Linked DNA regions of Homo sapiens: all the other regions are linked to region 3. The links are contacts of gene promoters, found by promoter capture Hi-C in human tissues and cell types (Jung and others, 2019). All regions are on one chromosome and are shown on one strand. The core of a region is centred on a gene start or on the middle of the fragment in contact, and the rest is flanking DNA. Distances in the headings are between cores, read along the strand shown.

Evidence for each region. The method cuts DNA at HindIII sites, captures the fragments that hold promoters and counts their contacts. A contact is called where the count stands out against the background at its distance.
Region 1: a fragment that was not itself captured here is called in contact with the fragment with the promoter of ACOT4 in region 3 in 2 of the 25 tissues and cell types used here (dorsolateral prefrontal cortex and spleen).
Region 2: a contact is called between a fragment that was not itself captured here and the fragment with the promoter of ACOT4 in region 3, in 1 of the 25 tissues and cell types used here (aorta).

What each region holds. Positions count from the first base shown.
Region 1 is chr14:73,940,775-73,943,695 of GRCh38, forward strand. It overlaps FAM161B (FAM161 centrosomal protein B), which reads right to left. Exons shown (of 9, transcript NM_152445.3): 4 at 1,595-1,941; 5 at 152-279. Among named protein-coding and RNA genes, the nearest start is that of FAM161B, 7.9 kb to the right of the region's middle. The HindIII fragment of the contact is 9,683 bases long and covers 1-2,921 here.
Region 2 is chr14:73,281,604-73,284,656 of GRCh38, forward strand. NUMB (NUMB endocytic adaptor protein) reads right to left here. Exons shown (of 13, transcript NM_001005743.2): 10 at 2,478-2,771; 11 at 756-902. Among named protein-coding and RNA genes, the nearest start is that of PAPLN-AS1, 37 kb to the left of the region's middle. The HindIII fragment of the contact is 6,061 bases long and covers 1-3,053 here.
Region 3 is chr14:73,590,359-73,593,411 of GRCh38, forward strand. It overlaps ACOT4 (acyl-CoA thioesterase 4), which reads left to right and starts at 1,515. Exons shown (of 3, transcript NM_152331.4): 1 at 1,515-2,058. The coding sequence starts at 1,602. It also overlaps a transcript of HEATR4 not described here. RefSeq lists an enhancer at 1,749-2,248 and a silencer at 2,060-2,129. The HindIII fragment of the contact is 17,984 bases long and covers 1-3,053 here.

The sequences.
Region 1 (2,921 bases), core at 379-2,878, 350 kb after region 3:
GAGAACCGCAATTGTTCCAGTCCTGATCAGAAAATTCCCTTTGACCCCTTGAGGTATCTCTGATAACAGGAAAGGAGGCCCCTTGGCAGGGAGGTTTCCAGCATTTGGGGCCAGAATCAGAGCATGGGTCTCGTGCAGCCTGACCACTCACCTGACTGCAGATTCCCTCTTCCTGGTGGCATCTGTGATGTGCACAGGGAGAGTGTTGGCAGAGAGGGAAGCAAGGCCGCTCAGAGAACGACTCCTTGGCAGGGGTGTAGCTGGTGGCTGTGGGGAATCCTAGAAGAAACAAAGGTTGGTATTGGTGGGACAGCATGTGTGATTAGTTTCTATCTTTTTTTTTTTTTTTTTTTTTTGAGACAGAGTCTCGTCTCGCTCTTTTGCCCAGGCTGGAGTGCAGTGGCGCAATCTCGGCTCACTGCAACCTCCAGCTGCCTGGTTCAAGCAATTCTCCTGCCTCAGCCTCCCACGTAGCTGGGACTATACAGGTTGTGAGCCACCATGCCCAGCTACATTTTTGCAGTTTTAGTACAGACGGGGTTTCACCATGTTGGTCAGGCTGGTCTCGAATTCCTGATCTCAGGTGATCCACCCGTGTCGGCCTCCCAAAGTGCTGGGATTACAGGTGTGAACTACCGCGCCCAGCCATTTTCTATCTTTACTAGGATTCAGCTTCACTGAAGGACTGAAAATGAGAATCTTCATTTTTTTTCCTGGGAATAAGGCAAGGATAAAGAGATCTCAAGTTTCACAACCAAGCCAAGACTTGGATATCAATCCTAAAGTTTTTAGTCAAATGAGAAGAGTTCCTTGGAATTGGTATAGAGACATCAACAACTGATCCCAACTCCTTGCCTCTCAAGCCTGCTTGGACTTATTTCTGTGAAATCCTTCTACAGTAAGGGAGGAAAAGAAGTGTCCCTATGGTTTCTGTTGTGTTCTGTTTTTGAGATGAACTTTCACTCTTGTTGTCCAGGCTGGCCTGCGGTGGCACAATCTCAGCTCACTGCAATCTCCGCCTCCCAGGTTCAAGCAATTCTCCTACCTCAGCCTCTGAAGTAGCTGGGATTACAGGTGCCCGCCACCGCACCCAGCTAATTTTTGTATTTTTAGTAGAGATGGGGTTTTGCCATGTTGGCCGTGCTGGTCTCGAACTCCTGACCTCAGATGATCTGCCCTCCTCGGCCTCTCAAAGTGCTGGGATTAAAGGCGTGAGCCACCACGCCTGGCCTGTTTTTTGTTGTTGTTTTTAGATGGGGTCTCACTCTGTTGCCTAGGCTGGAGTACAGTGGCATCATCTTGGCTCACTGCAGCCAGAAGGTCCTCCCACCTCAGCCTCCTGAATGGCTGGAACTACAGGTACACACCACCACATGTGGCAAATATTTGTATTTTTCTTTTAGAGATGGGGTCTCTGTTGCCCAGGCTGGGCTGTGGTCTGGAGTTTATAGGAAAGTGAATCTGCTTACAACTGAGCTGGTGTTTAAAAAAAAGATAGGAAAACCTTGTTGAGAAGTGCTTTCCAGGAAGACCTGGCCCCACCCTGTATTTCAGGCCGCAGCCCTGACCCTCCCACAGCTGCCTGGGCTCTCACCTGCCTCCTTCCGGTGGTGGCAGCATCACAGGGCCGCTGAGGGTGGCGCAGGTTGGCGGTCCTCAGCAAGAAGGGCTTGTTGCGAGTGGCCTCTTGGGTTTCTCTTCTTTTGGCTGCTCTTCTCTGGAAGGCCTTGTAAAGGCCCTCATAGTCAGGGACCACAGGATTCACCCGAGGCTGGAATCTGAAGTTAGTGTGCAGAAACCCAAGCTTTTCCTGCTGGGTTCGGGTGGCTGTGCGGGGCTGTGGGTTAGCCCGGTTACTAGAGGAGGCGATAGGGGAAGAGGCCATCTGGAGCATGTCCAGGGCTCTCATTTGGATGCGAATTTTCCTGAAGAGCTCAGCTTCTGTGGAGAAAGGATGGTGATGGGTAAGAAAGGACCAAGCAAGAAACCTACAGGGTTGGAGAACTTTCCCTCTTTTACACACTAGCTGTAAGTGTTACTGGAGGCAAGTAGGAACTTTTCAGGAATTCTGACACGTTAACATCCTGTGAGATGCCTGCAGATGGCCTGAATAGGAGTAATTATGCCACAGAAAATAACAAACATTACAAACCAGCTTCCTTTTTTTTTTTTCTGGAGAGCTTGTTAATAAATGTCATCCAGAACACCACTGCCTGTGTCAATCAGGCTGCAGAAGCAGTGACCATCTACACTTACTGAGCACTTTCTATGATTGCTTCTTCAGAGATGAAGCAGAGGAAGTGGGCCAGTAACCTGCTCCTCTCCCAGGTTTCCCCATCTGAGAGAAAGGCCCTACCATCCACCCAGCTGCCCAGGCCCTTTGCCCACATCACTGACTCCTCCGTGTCTCTCATCAGTCACAAGTTCTGTCATTTCCTCCTCTTTAACCTCTCTCCAGTCCATCCTCGTTTTTTCATCCCTGCAACCAGTTGCACAATTTCTCTACTGAATTGTGAAATAGCTTCCTCTTGGCTCAACATCCCTCCAGTCTTGCTGCCCTCTCAGATTATCTATACAGCAATCAGAAGGATCCTTCTGAACTATATTTCTGATCATGGGCCACCCTGCCTCACTCCCTCAGTGGCTTCCCTGTGCCCTTGGGATGAAGTCCAGACTCGCCAACGTGGCTTGCAAAGCTCCTCATGTCTGGCCCATGCCTGCCTCTTCCTTCCCACTCCCTCTTCTCTCAGCCCTCGACCTTTCCATCCCTTGCAGATGCTCTGCTTTCTCTCCCCTCCATGCCACATTCTGCCTGCTCCACTTCTCCTCCCTCTTCGCCCCTCCTTCAGTTCAGCCCCAGGGCCCACTTTCTCAGGGGACCTTCCCTAACTGCTCCCTTGCTTCACCAATCCCCGGGTTAG
Region 2 (3,053 bases), core at 174-2,673, 310 kb before region 3:
ACATAAATTCTTTGCTGACCTCTGAGTCAATATCCACTATTTAGTCAGTATCTCTGAAAACAACTTTTAACTCTTCAATGCCACAAAGGCAAATTTTAAGACACTTGTTATAGAAGATGAACTAAAGAGCTCAAAGGAGTGCCTTTTTCTTTATTAGCCTCTTTGACAGGGCAGAGACTAGGTGAGTCCAGGGCTTCTCAACATTGGCACCACTGACATTTTGGGCTGGATAATCCTTTGTTGTGGGTGCTGTCGTCTACACTGAAGGATGTTTAGTGGCATTCTTGGCATCTAACCACAAGCCAGTAACACCCCCAACCCCCAACTTGTAAAGCCCCAAAATGTCTCCAGACAGTGAAAGACAAACTTTGCCCCAGTTGAGAACCACTACACTAAAGAAAGCATAACCTTTGAACCAATTCTGATGACTACTGCTTTTGGGAAACTGGATGGGTATGCTGATCCTTAACAGTCAAGTGGGAAATAAGGCAGTAGGTTGGGACTACAGAAATTCCTTATAGAATGGGGTGAAAGATGGGCACATGCAGAATGACAAACACAGACATCTTAGAAAACAGGAAGGGCACAAAGACATCGTCGAATGGAGAAATCAATGAATCTAAGACATCAAATAGAGAAATTAATGGGTCTGACCAGGCCTTGGGAAGCTCAGGATGCCAACTTACAGTTAGTGAGCAGTGTACTAAAAGTACTGGTTGTAAAGAGAACAGCTGAGCAGGTCAGAGGGCACCAACCTTGGAAGGTAGGAGATTGTGGTGCCACCACTGTCACTGGTTTGGTCATCGGAGCAGATGAGAAGGGGTCCTCAGGTGTGCTGAAGGCATTGGTGATCTGTGAGCACAGGGAGCTGATGCTCTCTGCCTCCCCTTCTACTTCTGGCACTGCAAGGCAAACAGAAAATGGCTCCAGACAGAAAAATGGAATAATCCTGAAATTTGACAGTATGATGCAAGCTGGCACTTTATACTGTATCTCCTGCTTATGTAAGAAAAGGCTCAATTAACTGTATGGCAGGGCTACAAAACCAGTTTCAAAAAATTTACTGGCCACAATTTCATTGGCTTTTCAGATGGGAAAGTATAAAATGTCAACAATTAATGTACTAAGGCACATCTTCCTCCCTTACAAATCCCCAAATTTCTTCATTTCTTCTTCTTATAACACTGTTGAGGATCTGTCCTTTTTGTGCCAAGATGTTCAGCTAGCCAGATCTTTGTAGAAGACATTTGCAACCTGTATGCCTTCCAACGTGTTCTCAAGACTGTGATCTGAATTAGGTTCTGGAGCCTTTAGTAATTCTGTCAGGAAAATGGGTTCAAGTCTGGGCACTAGTGGATGCTTAGTGCTTTTCTCTGTAACAAACTATGACAATGTCATCAATCTCATTTTTCTCCAAAGTCTCCAGTACTAAGCATATGATCTATGATAACATGAAAAAGTGAGCAGAGGTGTAGGACGCTAGGGCCTTTATTCTTAATACTGACTCTAGGATACTTCTGTATCACTGAGGAAGCTAATTATGTGTGCTAAAGCTCTGTTTGCTCATCTGTAAAGAGAATAATAGTTTTTATTCCCTGTCTGCCCTAGAAGGAGACTGAACTGAAATGAGGTACCTCAGCTGAGAACTGAAAAGACCCTCCGTAATCATCTAGTCCAACTATTCTTTAGGCCTAGTTTCATCTGTCAGATGAACTTAACTCTCTGTACTTTTATACCATCAGTAGGAATGGCCTATTGAGACAGTTTCCTCATATTTTGTTATAGCAATGGCTTGACATGTCTCAGAGGGAAGTAAAATAGAGCCCAACAAAAGCACTGACCAGATCTAATACTTTAGCTACAGATTTTATGACGAGGATAGACCTATAGAGGCTGGCATAGCTGTACAGAGGCCACACAAAGGCCTGTGAGACGGTTCTGAAAGGTAATGAATACTTGTGAACAAGTCCACTGTCTGTGATGAACAACAGATCTTAGATGTACACGAAAGACCTGTCTAGAGTTTCCTCCTTATGGAGCCAACCAGCCAGAAGGACAATGAGCACATATCCATTTCTTCTGCTGGTAATGCTATGTGTTTCTAAGGCCTCTTTAATTAATTCCCTGCTGGGTCCCAATGGCAGAATAAGAATAGAAACTTGAGACCCTTGATGTTTGGGAGCAGGTTGGCTGAAAGGCAGTGAATGCACTTACATCAGGACAAACCACAAATCTTATGGCTTAGGCTAGAAATTCCACAATGGCTCTGCTGCCTGTTTGTTGAAGAGAAATTATGGATTCACATCCCCCTCCACGGACCTTAGTTTTCCCACTATGGGAAATGACAAAAGATACAACTATCAACGAACCTCAGGGAAAGAGGAATGCCTAGTTTAATGGGATTAGTGTCTTCATGGGAAGTGATGAGAATGCTTCAGTGCTCGAGTACCCAGTGAGTCAGGTAGATGCTACATTACCTGCATTTTTAATGGGGAAATCAGTCTTCCTCTGCATAGTGGAAGGCAACTCATTGATGCGTAGGGATAGTTGGCGTTTAAAGGGTGACATCTTCTGGCTAAGAGCAGGAAAACCTCGGAAAGAGCCTTGGCGAGCAAGCTGTTCAATTGGAGCATGCCGGCGTGGGATGGCATGAGGATTGTTCATCTCCAGAGAGGTCGTGGCATCAGAAGTAGGAGAGGTGGGAGAGGATGGGGATGGGGCAGTGTTGCCAGGGGCAACTGATGAACCAACGACTATCTTATCTGTTTCAGCTCAAGAAAATAAAGAGAATGAAGACCTTAGCAATGTCTTCAAATAATTTGCGTTTAGAGAGCTGACAAATTCGAAAGCCCTCTAGGTCCTTTTACCCATTTCCTTCCCAGTGTCTCTTAAAACATAAGTTAGAAGCAGGGTTCGGATCCATTTTTCAGACAGATAAAAGGCTTAGTAATGTACTATATGTCACAAAGCATATCTACTAAGACAGAAATGTTAGATCTTTTATTCTCATTCAGTGATTTATAAATTAAGACTGTGAAAAAGATCTTAAAAAC
Region 3 (3,053 bases), core at 265-2,764:
AGCTAGACATAAAGATTCTCCAAGTCCCCACCAGACTCAGGAGTCCAGCTGGCTTCACCCAGTGGATGCCGCACGGGGTTCGCAGGTGGAGCTGCCTGCCAGTCCCGCGCCGTGCGCCCGCACTTCTCAGCCCTTGGGCGGTCGATGGGACTGGGCGTTAGTGGAGCAGGGAGCGGAGCTCGTTGAGGAGGCTCGGACCGCGCAGAAGCTCACGGCGGGGGCGGGGGCTCAGGCATGGCGGGCTGCAGGTCCCGAGCCCTGCGCCGCGGGGAGGCAGCTAAGGCCCGCTGAGAAATCGAGCACAGCAGCTGCTGCCCCAGGTGCTAAGCCCCTCACTGCCCGGGGCTTGCGGGCCGGCCGGCCGCTCCAAGTGCGGGGCCGCCGAGCCCACGCCCACCCGGGACTCGCGCTGGCCCGCAAGCCCCGCGGGCAGCCCCGGTTCCCGCCCGCGCCTCTCCCTCCACACCTCCCAGTAAGCTGAGGGAGCCGACTCCGGCCTTGGCCAGCCCAGAAAGGGGCTCCCACAGTGCAGCGGCGGGCTGAAGGGCTCCTCAAGCGCGGCCAGAGTGGGCGCCAAGGCCGAGGAGGCGCCGACAGCGAGCGAGGGCAGCCAGCATGCTGTCACGTATCACTAGCACTTTGGGACTACAGAGGCAGGAGGATAGTTTGTGCTCAGGAGTTCGAGACCAGCCTGGGAAACAGGGTGACACCTCCTCTCTAAAAATAAACATTTAAAAATTAACGTGGCATGGTGGTGCGCTGTCTGTAGTCACAGCTACTCCGAAGGCTGAGACAGGAGGATCACTTGAGCCTGGGAGGTGGAGGCTGCAGTGACCTGTGATCGAGCCACCGCCTTGCAGCCTGGATGACAGAGAGAGACCCTGTCTCAAATACAACAAAAAAGCAGGCCGGGCGCAGCGGCTCACGCCTGTAATCCCTAGCACTTTGGGAGGCCAAGGCGGGAAGATCACTTGAAGTCAGGAGTTCAAGACCAGCCTGGCCAACATGGTGTAACTCCCTCTTTACTAAAAATACAAAAATTAGCGGCATGGTGGCGCGCGCCTGTAATCCCAGGTACTCGGGAGGCTGAGGCAGGAGAATCGCTTGAACCCAGGAGGCGGAGATTGCAGTGAGCCGAAGCGCCACTGCACTCCAGCCTGGGCGACAGAGGAGACTCTGTTTCAAAAAAAAAAAAAGTTAAAAACAAAACCTTCCATGGAGCCCATGAAAGGCTGGAATTTGGCTTGATCTCATTGGCTTTTGGTTTCACCACAAATTGATCATCCAACAACTTTCATTCCAACAACCGAGGGTGGTGTGAGGCAGAGAGGCTTTCTACGGGGTGGGTTGGGCGCCACACCTTGCGCGCCCCGGGGCCCAAGGAGACGACCCTGAAGAGGAGCCTGGCTACTTTTGCCTCAGACGAGTCCGGAGCGCCGGGTTAACCGGTCTGAAGTCCCAGGGGCTTTCTGGGACTGCTCAGCCACCGGCAGCTTCCGGCACCAGGGGACGCCGGACGCCGTCCGGACATTCGGCGCGCTTGCCACGATCTTGGACGGGTCTCGGGCCTCGACCTTTGAATTCCCCGCTCCGGCTCCAAGATGTCAGCAACGCTGATCCTGGAGCCCCCAGGCCGCTGCTGCTGGAACGAGCCGGTGCGCATTGCCGTGCGCGGCCTGGCCCCGGAGCAGCGGGTTACGCTGCGCGCGTCCCTGCGCGACGAGAAGGGCGCGCTCTTCCGGGCCCACGCGCGCTACTGCGCCGACGCCCGCGGCGAGCTGGACCTGGAGCGCGCACCCGCGCTGGGCGGCAGCTTCGCGGGACTCGAGCCCATGGGGCTGCTCTGGGCCCTGGAACCCGAGAAGCCTTTTTGGCGCTTCCTGAAGCGGGACGTACAGATTCCTTTTGTCGTGGAGTTGGAGGTGCTGGACGGCCACGACCCCGAGCCTGGACGGCTGCTGTGCCAGGCGCAGCACGAGCGCCACTTCCTCCCGCCAGGGGTGCGGCGCCAGTCGGTGCGAGCGGGCCGGGTGCGCGCCACGCTCTTCCTGCCGCCAGGTGAGCCAGGCTGCTGGCGGGTGGTGTGAGCGTCAGTGGCCTGAGTCTCCGTTTGTTTCCAGTGCTGATTTAGCACTGGTTTGGTTTTGGAGCAAGATCAGAGAAGCTAACATTGACTATGTCAGTGGCCACTCTACCAAAATAGAGGGTTTGGTACCGGGCGTGGTGACTAACGCCTGTAATCCCAGCACTTTGGGAGGCCGAGATGGGCGGATCACTTGAGATCAGGAGTTTGAGACCAGACTGGCCAGCATGGTGAAACGCTGACTCTACCGAAAATACAAAAATTAGTCCAGCCTGGTGGCACACGCCTGTAGTCCCAGCCACTCGGGAGGCTGAGGCACGAGAATCGCTTGAACCTGGGAGATGGAGGTTGCAGTGAGCCGAGATCGCACCACTGCACTCCAGCCTGGGTGACAGAGCGAGACTCCGTCTCAAAAAAAGAAAAAAGAAAAAAAAGGATTTTTTGTTAGGCTGTGTACTACGGTTTTTACTTGCATTCTATCAGTTAGTCTCTATAATATCCCAATGAAGTTGGTATTGTTATTCTGCAGATGAAAAAACAGGTTCAGGTCGTCAGGTACATTATCCACTTTGCTATTAATCACTACCCTACAGATTTCTACAGGCATCAGCCTGACTTGTCTAAGGCAGAATGATGACAGTGAATGAAGCTATTACCATGTCGTCTTCTCTAGTGTTCTAGGCACACTGTCTCTTCTCCACTTCTTCATGTGCTGCTTTATCACAGGTCACACTTCAGACTCCACTGCCTTTCTCACCTAAAACCATCTCTGGGTATTTCTTTTTCTTTCCTCCCTTTCTACATAGACATCTGAAATATCAGTACACTAAAAACCAGAGGGCTGATGCAACAGAACATAAAGTTTTGTTTCAATCTTTTTTCTTTTCTTTCTTTCTTTTTTTTTTTTTTTTTTTTGAGACAGTGTCTGTCTCTGTTGCCCACGCTGGAGTGCAGTGGTGTGGTCACACCT